3 separate regions of the Homo sapiens genome follow, and regions 1 and 2 are each linked to region 3. Evidence: promoter capture Hi-C in human tissues and cell types (Jung and others, 2019). All regions are on one chromosome and are shown on one strand. The core of a region is centred on a gene start or on the middle of the fragment in contact, and the rest is flanking DNA. Distances in the headings are between cores, read along the strand shown.

Evidence for each region. The method cuts DNA at HindIII sites, captures the fragments that hold promoters and counts their contacts. A contact is called where the count stands out against the background at its distance.
Region 1: a contact is called between a fragment that was not itself captured here and the fragment with the promoter of SOX10 in region 3, in 5 of the 25 tissues and cell types used here (aorta, dorsolateral prefrontal cortex, liver and 2 more).
Region 2: a fragment that was not itself captured here is called in contact with the fragment with the promoter of SOX10 in region 3 in 5 of the 25 tissues and cell types used here (dorsolateral prefrontal cortex, hippocampus, lymphoblastoid cells and 2 more).

Annotation. Positions count from the first base shown.
Region 1 is chr22:38,302,110-38,304,809 of GRCh38, forward strand. It overlaps TPTEP2-CSNK1E (TPTEP2-CSNK1E readthrough), which reads right to left. Exons shown (of 15, transcript NM_001289912.2): 7 at 1,029-1,139; 8 at 752-900. It overlaps CSNK1E (casein kinase 1 epsilon), which reads right to left. Exons shown (of 11, transcript NM_152221.3): 3 at 1,029-1,139; 4 at 752-900. Among named protein-coding and RNA genes, the nearest start is that of CSNK1E, 14 kb to the right of the region's middle. The HindIII fragment of the contact is 4,513 bases long and covers 1-2,700 here.
Region 2 is chr22:38,263,441-38,266,140 of GRCh38, forward strand. The region is part of intron 1 of TMEM184B (transmembrane protein 184B); the gene reads right to left. Among named protein-coding and RNA genes, the nearest start is that of TMEM184B, 8.2 kb to the right of the region's middle. RefSeq lists an enhancer at 446-946. The HindIII fragment of the contact is 7,395 bases long and covers 1-2,700 here.
Region 3 is chr22:37,983,201-37,985,900 of GRCh38, forward strand. It overlaps SOX10 (SRY-box transcription factor 10), which reads right to left and starts at 1,355. Exons shown (of 4, transcript NM_006941.4): 1 at 1,139-1,355; 2 at 157-668. The coding sequence starts at 584. It also overlaps a transcript of POLR2F not described here. RefSeq lists enhancers at 1-461, 2,416-2,700. The HindIII fragment of the contact is 28,697 bases long and covers 1-2,700 here.

The DNA.
Region 1 (2,700 bases), core at 72-2,571, 320 kb after region 3:
TGAGGCCACTGAGGCTCAGAGAGGTTCGGCGTTCACCTACGGTCACTGGTCTGGAACAGGACCAGGTCTGTGTGACCGACCGCAGGCTTTACATTACCCAGGGCAGGCCAGACGTGGTGGATCATGCCTGTGATCCCGTGTTAATTCCCATCTTGGGAGGCCAAGATGGGAAGACTGCTCAAGGCCAGGAGTTTGAGACCAGCCTGGTCAACACAGTGAGACCCCCATCTCTATTTCTTACAATTAAATGATATTTTTGAAATAAATAAATAAAACTACCCCAGGCAGAGTCCCAGGCCCTGACTCGGCAGGTCTGGAGTTGGGCCTGAAATCACATTTTAAATAAACAACTTGGCTGGGCACGGTGGCTCACGCCTGTAATCCCAGCACTTTGAGAGGCTAAGATGGGCGGATCACTTGGTAAAACTCTGTCTCTACTAAAAATACAAAAATTAGCCCAGCGTGGTGGCAGGTGCCTGTAATCCCAGCTACTCATGAGGCTGAGGCAGGAGAATCGCGTGAACCTGGGAGGCGGATGTTGCAACGAGCTGAGATCGCACCACTGCGCTCCAGCCTGGGCGACAGAGTGAGACTCCGCCTCAAAAAATAAATAAACACCTACAATTCTATAGCCAGTGGACAAGGTCCCCTGGCCCAGGCCCATCCTCTGGCATCCTCTGGGGGCAGGAGGCAGGGCTGGTATCCTGGGCCCACAGGCATCTGGCTGGGGATGGAGGGGACGGGGACTCACCATCTGGTCGGCCAAGAGCAGCACCGTCTTGAGGCTGAATTTGCGGGAACAGAAGTTGAACAGGTCCTCGAGGCTAGGCCCCAGCAGCTCCATGACCATCACGTTGTAGTCGCCCTCAGCTCCGCACCACTTGATGGACGGGATCCCCACTGGGGGTCAAGCAGAGGGCCTCTGTCAGGGGTCAGAGGCAGGCAGCCAGCCACGCCCGGCCCACCCTGTGCTCATGGCTGCCCACCGCCACCCACCCGGCGCCCGCCGCCGCCCACCCTGCGCTCACCGCCACCCTGCATCATCTTGTAGAACTTGCTCTCGATGTGCAGCTGGGGGTGCTTTGTCTTCACACACTCCAGCTTGATGGCGACTTCCTCACCAGAGGCGATGTTGGCACCTGCCCGGGGCAGGGAGGCAAGGGACCAGGGTCACCCTCAAAGGCCAGGCAGTCCCAGGCGCCCCACTAAGCATTTCTGAGATCTGGCGTGTGCCGGGCCCGGGGCCATCTGCCCTTGAGGAGCTCTTGGGGGAGGCTGGGAAGGGGGCAAAGGAGCCCCGGCAAAGGGTTCCTGAGGGGAAAGAAGGTCAGCGCTGTGAGGGACAGAGGTGACACACAAGGGCTACCCAGGGCCACAGGTTGGGGCGACAAGAAGGCCCGATGTGAGTGGGGCAAGGGTCAGGTATGCAAAAGGCTCACAGACCACCTAAGGGAGGGGGCTGAGTCCTAGAGCAAATTCAGGCAGTGAGGTCTGTCGGGTTGAGATGGTGGCACGTGCAGAAGAGGCCCAATGGGGCTGGGCTGCCGAACACACCAGAACAAGCCAGGACCACCCTGGCCTACAGGATGAGGATGGGACAGCCGCAGCAACCCCTCAGTCAATGCTGATGCCTTCAGAGGCAGCCCTGCACATTCTAATCCAGTGTCTCATTCGATTCTCAACCCCCTTGTAGAGATGAGAAAACAGAGACCCAGCTAGAGACCCAGCTCAAGGTCACCTGACCTGTAAATGGCGGCCTTGAGATCAACCCCGGCTCTGCTGGCCTCCAGCATAGGTCAGAGGTCCTGCCTGCACCTCCCCGTCTCCCCCAGTCCACTCCTGGCTTCTCAAGGGGCTCTAAGAAAATACCCTCACACACACCAAGGCCCCGCTCTCTGCCTGGGCCCACTGCCCAACTCAAGAAGTCACAAGAAAGACCAAGCCCAAAGTGTACCTTGCCTCAGTTTCCCTGGCTGTATGGGTGGATGAGATGAAGGGCTGGGGCTAGGCTGGGCGACAGGGTGTCTCCTTCCTGGGGCCAGCAGCGAGCCCAGCAGGAGGAGTAGGACAGTGTCGCAACAGGACACAAACAGGCCAGAACAACCCCCAGGGACACAGCCTCAGGAGGAGTTCAAGACAGGAGAAAGGCAGGACCTCACATCAGAGGAAAAGATGAGACTGTTCATTAATAATGTCCCTGAACAACCGGCTGGCCACCTGAGAAAAGACACCATGGCTCACACCACAACCAGGAGAAATCTCAAGTAGAGGAAAAGTTTGTATATAAGAAATAAAGGTGTGGGTGTGAGTTGGCACAGCCCCTGTGCACCTCTTGGGTGAAGCTGAACATAAACAAACGCTCGCCCAAGCAACCCCACTCCTGAGTGTACATCCTTCAGAAACACGTGTGCACCAGGGGGACAGGACAAGGATGGACACAGGAGCAAACAGCCCAAGTGCTCAGCAGCAGAAGAACAGGAACAGTGGCGCAGTCACCAGGGAATCCCAGGCGGCAGTGAAGAGGAAAGGATGCCTGCTTCACACAATGACCCTGGTCCCAGGGGTGCACTCCTCACAGCAGCCAGAGGGTGGAAACAACAAACATCTGTCACAGATGCAAGGATGAATGGAATGCAGTGCCTCCATGCGGCGGAATATTATTCAGCAATAAAGAGGAATAAAGTACCGATACACGCTACG
Region 2 (2,700 bases), core at 10-2,509, 280 kb after region 3:
CTCGGCAATCCACCTTGCTGCTCAATCCGGCACAGTGCGTTGAGCGTCCATCTTATGTATTATGGCCACGCGGTATCCCATGTTTAGACGGGCCATGGTTTGTTCATTGGCCCCTGCGAATGAACATTTAAGCTGCCTCCAATCTTTTGCTATTAAAAATAAGGCAACAATGACGAACCTTGCAAATAAATCATTTTGCACACGTGTTAACCCATCCGTAGAATAAATTCTGGGAGGCAGAGCTGCCGGTGAAAGTATAGAAACATCTGTAATTTTGGAAAATATTGCCAGAGAGGCACAGTACATTTAAATTGTTCATCCAAGAAATGAGCCTCAATGTTGGGGGAAATATAGAAAATATGTAGGTTTCTGTTTGTTTTTTGAGATGCAGTCTCGCTCTGTCTCCCAGGCTGAAGTGCGGTGATGCAATCTCAGCTCACTGCAATCTTTGCCTCCCAAGTTCAAGCGATTCTTCTGCCTCAGCCTCCCGAGTAGCTGGGATTACAGGTGCGTGTCACCACGCTGGGCTAATTTTTGTATTTTTAGTAGAGATGAGGTTTCACCATGTTGGCCAGGCTGGTCTCGACCTCCTGACCTCAAGTTACCTGCCCACCTCGGCCTCCCAAAGTGCTGGGATTACAGGCGTGAGCCACCGCGACCAGCCAATACATAGTTTAAAGTTGTCCAAGTGAAGAAACGGTAGAGAAAGGCTGTTTTCAACAAATGGAGCTCTGGGTAGGGACACGGTGCTGAACCCACACCGGCCCCAACTCACTTGGTGCTCTGGTCCACACGCTTGCATTTCCCAGCTGTCAGTAAAAGGCTAGGCCCACTTGGCCCCTTGACCCTTCTCAGGGCTCTGATGTCCTGGTCCCAGGAAGTGTGAACGGTGACCTGAGCCACTATGACAAGCAGCCATAATTGGTCTCCCCAGGCGCCCATGAAGATGAGCAGGCAGGCCAGGTGGGAGGGGGTGGGGGTGCAGAGCCCAAGAGGGCCAAGTGCTTCCAGTCTAGCCATTCCAGATGAGTGGTGAGCACCTCTTGCCACATACCCTGCACAAGCTGCAGGGGACACCACAGCCATGCAAGACCACTCCCACTCCATGACATTCACTCAGCTGGCTCTGCTCCTGGGTCCATCACAGATCTGTTATGTAACTCCTGTGCCCAACAGCCATCACCACCTAAGCATCAAGCCAGGGAGTTGAGGAGATGGAGGCGGGTCTCTGGAAGGCACACCGAGTATCAAGTCAGGACAGCCAACTCTATGTAGAAGCAGGGCAGGCCTTTCTCCCACTTCCACAAATCTGGCCCAACTACTGCAAACTGGGAAAAGAAGGAAAAGTCTTCTGCCCCCGGCCGAGTAGGAGATACCTCTTAGCAAACCAAAGGAAGCATTTGAGAGAAAGAACCCTTGTCAACCTCATCTCCCAGCCCAAGCCGTGCTCCCACTGACTGAGACGGCCAGGCACTCCAGTAAATCAAATCATACTTACATGCTCTGAGGTTACTGCTATTAAAATTATCTAACCTATGCATCCTGCATCTACCTTTCTTCTCAAAGCAAATATGTACTGTTTTGGAAAATCTAGATTTTCCCACATCCTATTTAAACTCCATTGACAAATCTGTGTATAGATGCACTTTCTCCTCCTGGAGATGAGGCTAGGACCCCACATGCTCTGGGAAGTGGTCACGAGACCTCTGCTCCTTGAGTAACCTGCCTGTCTCATTCCTCTGTGTGTGCTCAAGGTGGTCCCACTCCCTGCAAAGACCTCCTGCACTTCACCTGCCAACCTCCACTGTCCACTGAGCCTCAGCCCAACTACCCTTGTTCCAGAGAGCACCGGCTCCTCAGCTCACCCCCAGGCAGAGCCGACTGCTGCCTCCTGGAACCCCCATGGTTTTAACCTGAAGCTTTATTCACGTGCTTTCCAGGTCTAAGCAGCAATCCAATACACTGGCCTTCCCAGTGTGGCTGCAAGCTCTCCAAGGGCAGGTCTGTGTTGGGGGTAGCTACTCAGCAGGAAGGGCCCAGGACTCAAAACCAGAAAACCTGGGTGCTTCCTCCCCCAGGATCTTAGGCAATTCACCCCTCTGAGCCTCAGTCTCTCCATCTATAAAATAGGTGCAATAATTTCAAGGTTTCAGGGCAGTTAAAAGGATTACATAAAACCATATATTTGAAATATAACTTGCAAAGCCCCACAAATTCCAATGAGAATATTAATATAACTAGCATGTTAATATTAATTAATATCCTCACACATACCCTTCACCAACATCTATCATTGTGCCTCGCAGGCACCCAAACTGACTGCTGATGGGATCCCAGATTCACTGCTCACTCTGCATGAAACAAAAACCACAGGCGCTAGAGGTGGGGACCAGGAGGCTCTGCCAGTAGCTACAGCGGCGCCATGGGGTTAGTTATTTTCTCTCGGAGCTTTTCGGTAAATGGGGAACAGCCCTGCTGAGTGGAGTGGAGGTTCTCAGCCACTTGCCAGCAGGAGAGGCCCCATTCTGGGTGCAGGCAGTCCACAGGGGTTGGAGCAGGAGATAAATAAAGGTACCAAGCTCCACACACGTCCCTTGGAGTAGGGGGGCTGTCTGATCTGAAAATCCCTTTGAGGGTAACAGAGGCAGTAACTTCCGGAGGTCTCACTGCACCCCCTCTGTTGGGGAGGGGGACCATCTG
Region 3 (2,700 bases), core at 105-2,604:
AGGGCGGGCGCGGCCCCCACACCTGGTCTTCCAGCCCTATCCAAGGAGGACTGCCAGACAGTCCCGCTCTGAGGTGCAGGAGGCCGGGCCGCCTCGGCTACCCTGAATCCACCCGAAGCTAGAGGGCCCGAGCCCGGGGGGCGGTCGGGTGCTCACCTCCAGAGCTTGCCCAGCGTCTTGCTGAGCTCAGCGTTGTGCAGGTGCGGGTACTGGTCCGCGAGCTTCCTGCGCGCTGCCTGAGCCCACACCATGAAGGCGTTCATGGGCCGCTTGACGTGCGGCTTGCTTTTGCTGGCGCCGTTGACGCGCACGGGCATGGGCACCAGCGTCCAGTCGTAGCCGCTGAGCACCTGGCTGACGGCCTCGCGGATGCACACGGGGAACTTGTCATCGTCCGCCTCGCCGTCCTGCTGCTCCTTCTTGACCTTGCCCAGCTCGCCTGGCCCCGGGCTGGCTCGCAGGCCCGATCCGCCGCCGCCGCCGTCGGGCCCTAGCGAGGGCGCGCTCCCCGGGGACAGGCAGCGGGGCTCCTCCGAGCCCACGGGGCTCAGCTCCACCTCCGATAGGTCCTGCTCCTCCGCCATGTCGCCCCCGGCCGCCGCCGCCGCCGCCTCGGCCGCCTCCCCCGGGCCAGCCGCCGGGGTCCTCGCAAAGAGTCCAACGCCCACCTGGATGGAAGGAGGGCGCGATGGAGCGGCCGCGCGCGCAGCCCCGAGGGCGGCCCGAGACAGGACGTGGGCACAGCCCCGAGGTGGCGGCCCTTCCTGCTCCAGCTAAACCCATCTGGCCCCTGGGGCCCACGCACATGCCAGACTCTAGGTGGGTGCGTCCCGCCTCTGTGTCTTCCCACCACCTGGTCCCAACCGTCTCTTGGTGTGGGTGGCTTTTTTTTTAGCCTCCTTTTTTGGGTGGAGGTTTGTTGATGATAAGGAAGAAAAAAACGGAGCCTTTATTTTGCTCTAATCCCGGCCCCTGGAATTTCCCACCTTTTCTCTCACCTTTCCTTCTTCCCTCAGCCTGCCCCAACGGGGTTTAGAGGAGAGCCAGGTGGGGGGCAAGGGCGGGGTGTCGCCTCTCTCCACCTCACAGCAGGGTCCCAGGCCTGGGCGGGCCAGGGAGGAGCAGGCTGCGCACTCACCTCCTCGGACCTCTCCTCCAGTCTGGGGCTCGTCCTTAGGAAGTGGAAAACCGTGTCCCAAGGTGTGCGGTCCAGCTCGGGGCTGGGAGGTGACGCTGGTGGGCTGGGAGGGAGGGGCGGGGGGCCCTGAGCCTCAGGCCACGGCCTCGTTAGGACGGAGCCTGAATCCTTACCACCAACCACCCTGGCCGGACAGCCCGAGACTGACTGAGCGACTGAGCCTGAGCCGCTGCGGAGGGCTGGGGAAGGAAGGAGGGGGAGAGGGGGGAGGGGAGAGGAGGGAGGGAAGGGCAGAAGGTGGAGCCTCCAGGCTTTCCTTCATCCCCAACACTCAGGGCTCCTCCACCCGGAGCCCAGGCCCCCCCACCCAGCTCCCTGCCCTACTGCCCAGGCCCATCTTGCTGAGGCTTATCTTGGGCTTAGTCTGGGAGGTGGAGGGGAGGTTAGGCCGAGGAAGGAAGAGATGTAGGCTGGAGGGTCAGAACCTGTTGGATGGAAGAAAATTGGGCCCAACCAGGACTCCTAACGTCTGCCTCAGGTGGCAGGATGGGCACTTGGCAGGGGACTAGGGAGAGACGTGAAGGCGGTGAGGGTCCTGGGGGCCCGTGAGGGTGGCTGGCCCTAGCTGCTTCGTCTGCGAAATCCTGTTGAGTGCCTAGTGTGTGCCAGGCACTGATGCCCAGCTCCTCACCCTGCCTCCTACCTTTTCCCAGGCAGCCCTTTCTGCCCCATCCTGCACAGTAAGAGAGACTTCTCAGGGATCCCTCTGAGAAGTGCAGAGCCCCAGCTTGACCCCTGGTCCCTTCTCTGCAGACACCCAGCACACGCGCGTTCTGGTCTGGTTCAAGGTGGAAACACAAGACTAAAGCTGCCAGGAGGCCAAGGTGGGACAGGTTGGGGGCCCTCTCTCAGTAGGTCTTAGAGGCATTTTGGGTTGCTACCTACTGGGACCCAGCTCCTTCCACACTGGGCTCACCCTGTCTTGGGAGAGGGTAGGGGAGTCCTAGTCCTGATTGTCACGAAGTCCTCTACTCCCCCACCCCAACAAGGGGTGGGGACTTGCCCTGCCTCTTCCCTCCTCTGCCCACCTCTCCCTCCCTCCCCTTTTCTTTCCTGCCCATCCTCCGTTGACACCTTTTTCTCTCTCTTTCCTTGGCCTCTCCTCCAAAGGTCGCAGTGCTGTTCTCTTAACTGAGGGCAGCCCCGCCGGGGTGTTGAGGCCGAGGTGGGGTGTATGTGGGTTATGTAATGGAGCTGGGGTCGCATTGGCAACCATGTGACGTTCTGAGCTCCTCAACAGCAGGGCAAAGCCCCAAGACCACCCCAAGGGGTCCTGTCTGGAGTGGGCTGCAAAGGGTCTGGGGAGGCAAGGCCTCATGCTTGGGAAAGTCCAAAGGGGTGTAGGGGGTGGGAAATGGGACACAATGAGGTAGTCACACGAGGCAGAGGCATGTTGGGGGTGGGGGGAGCAGACACTGGAACACACACACACACACACACACACACACACACACATGCTCACACACACAACCAGCCAGACAATCGGGCCAGTGTGTCTGGGG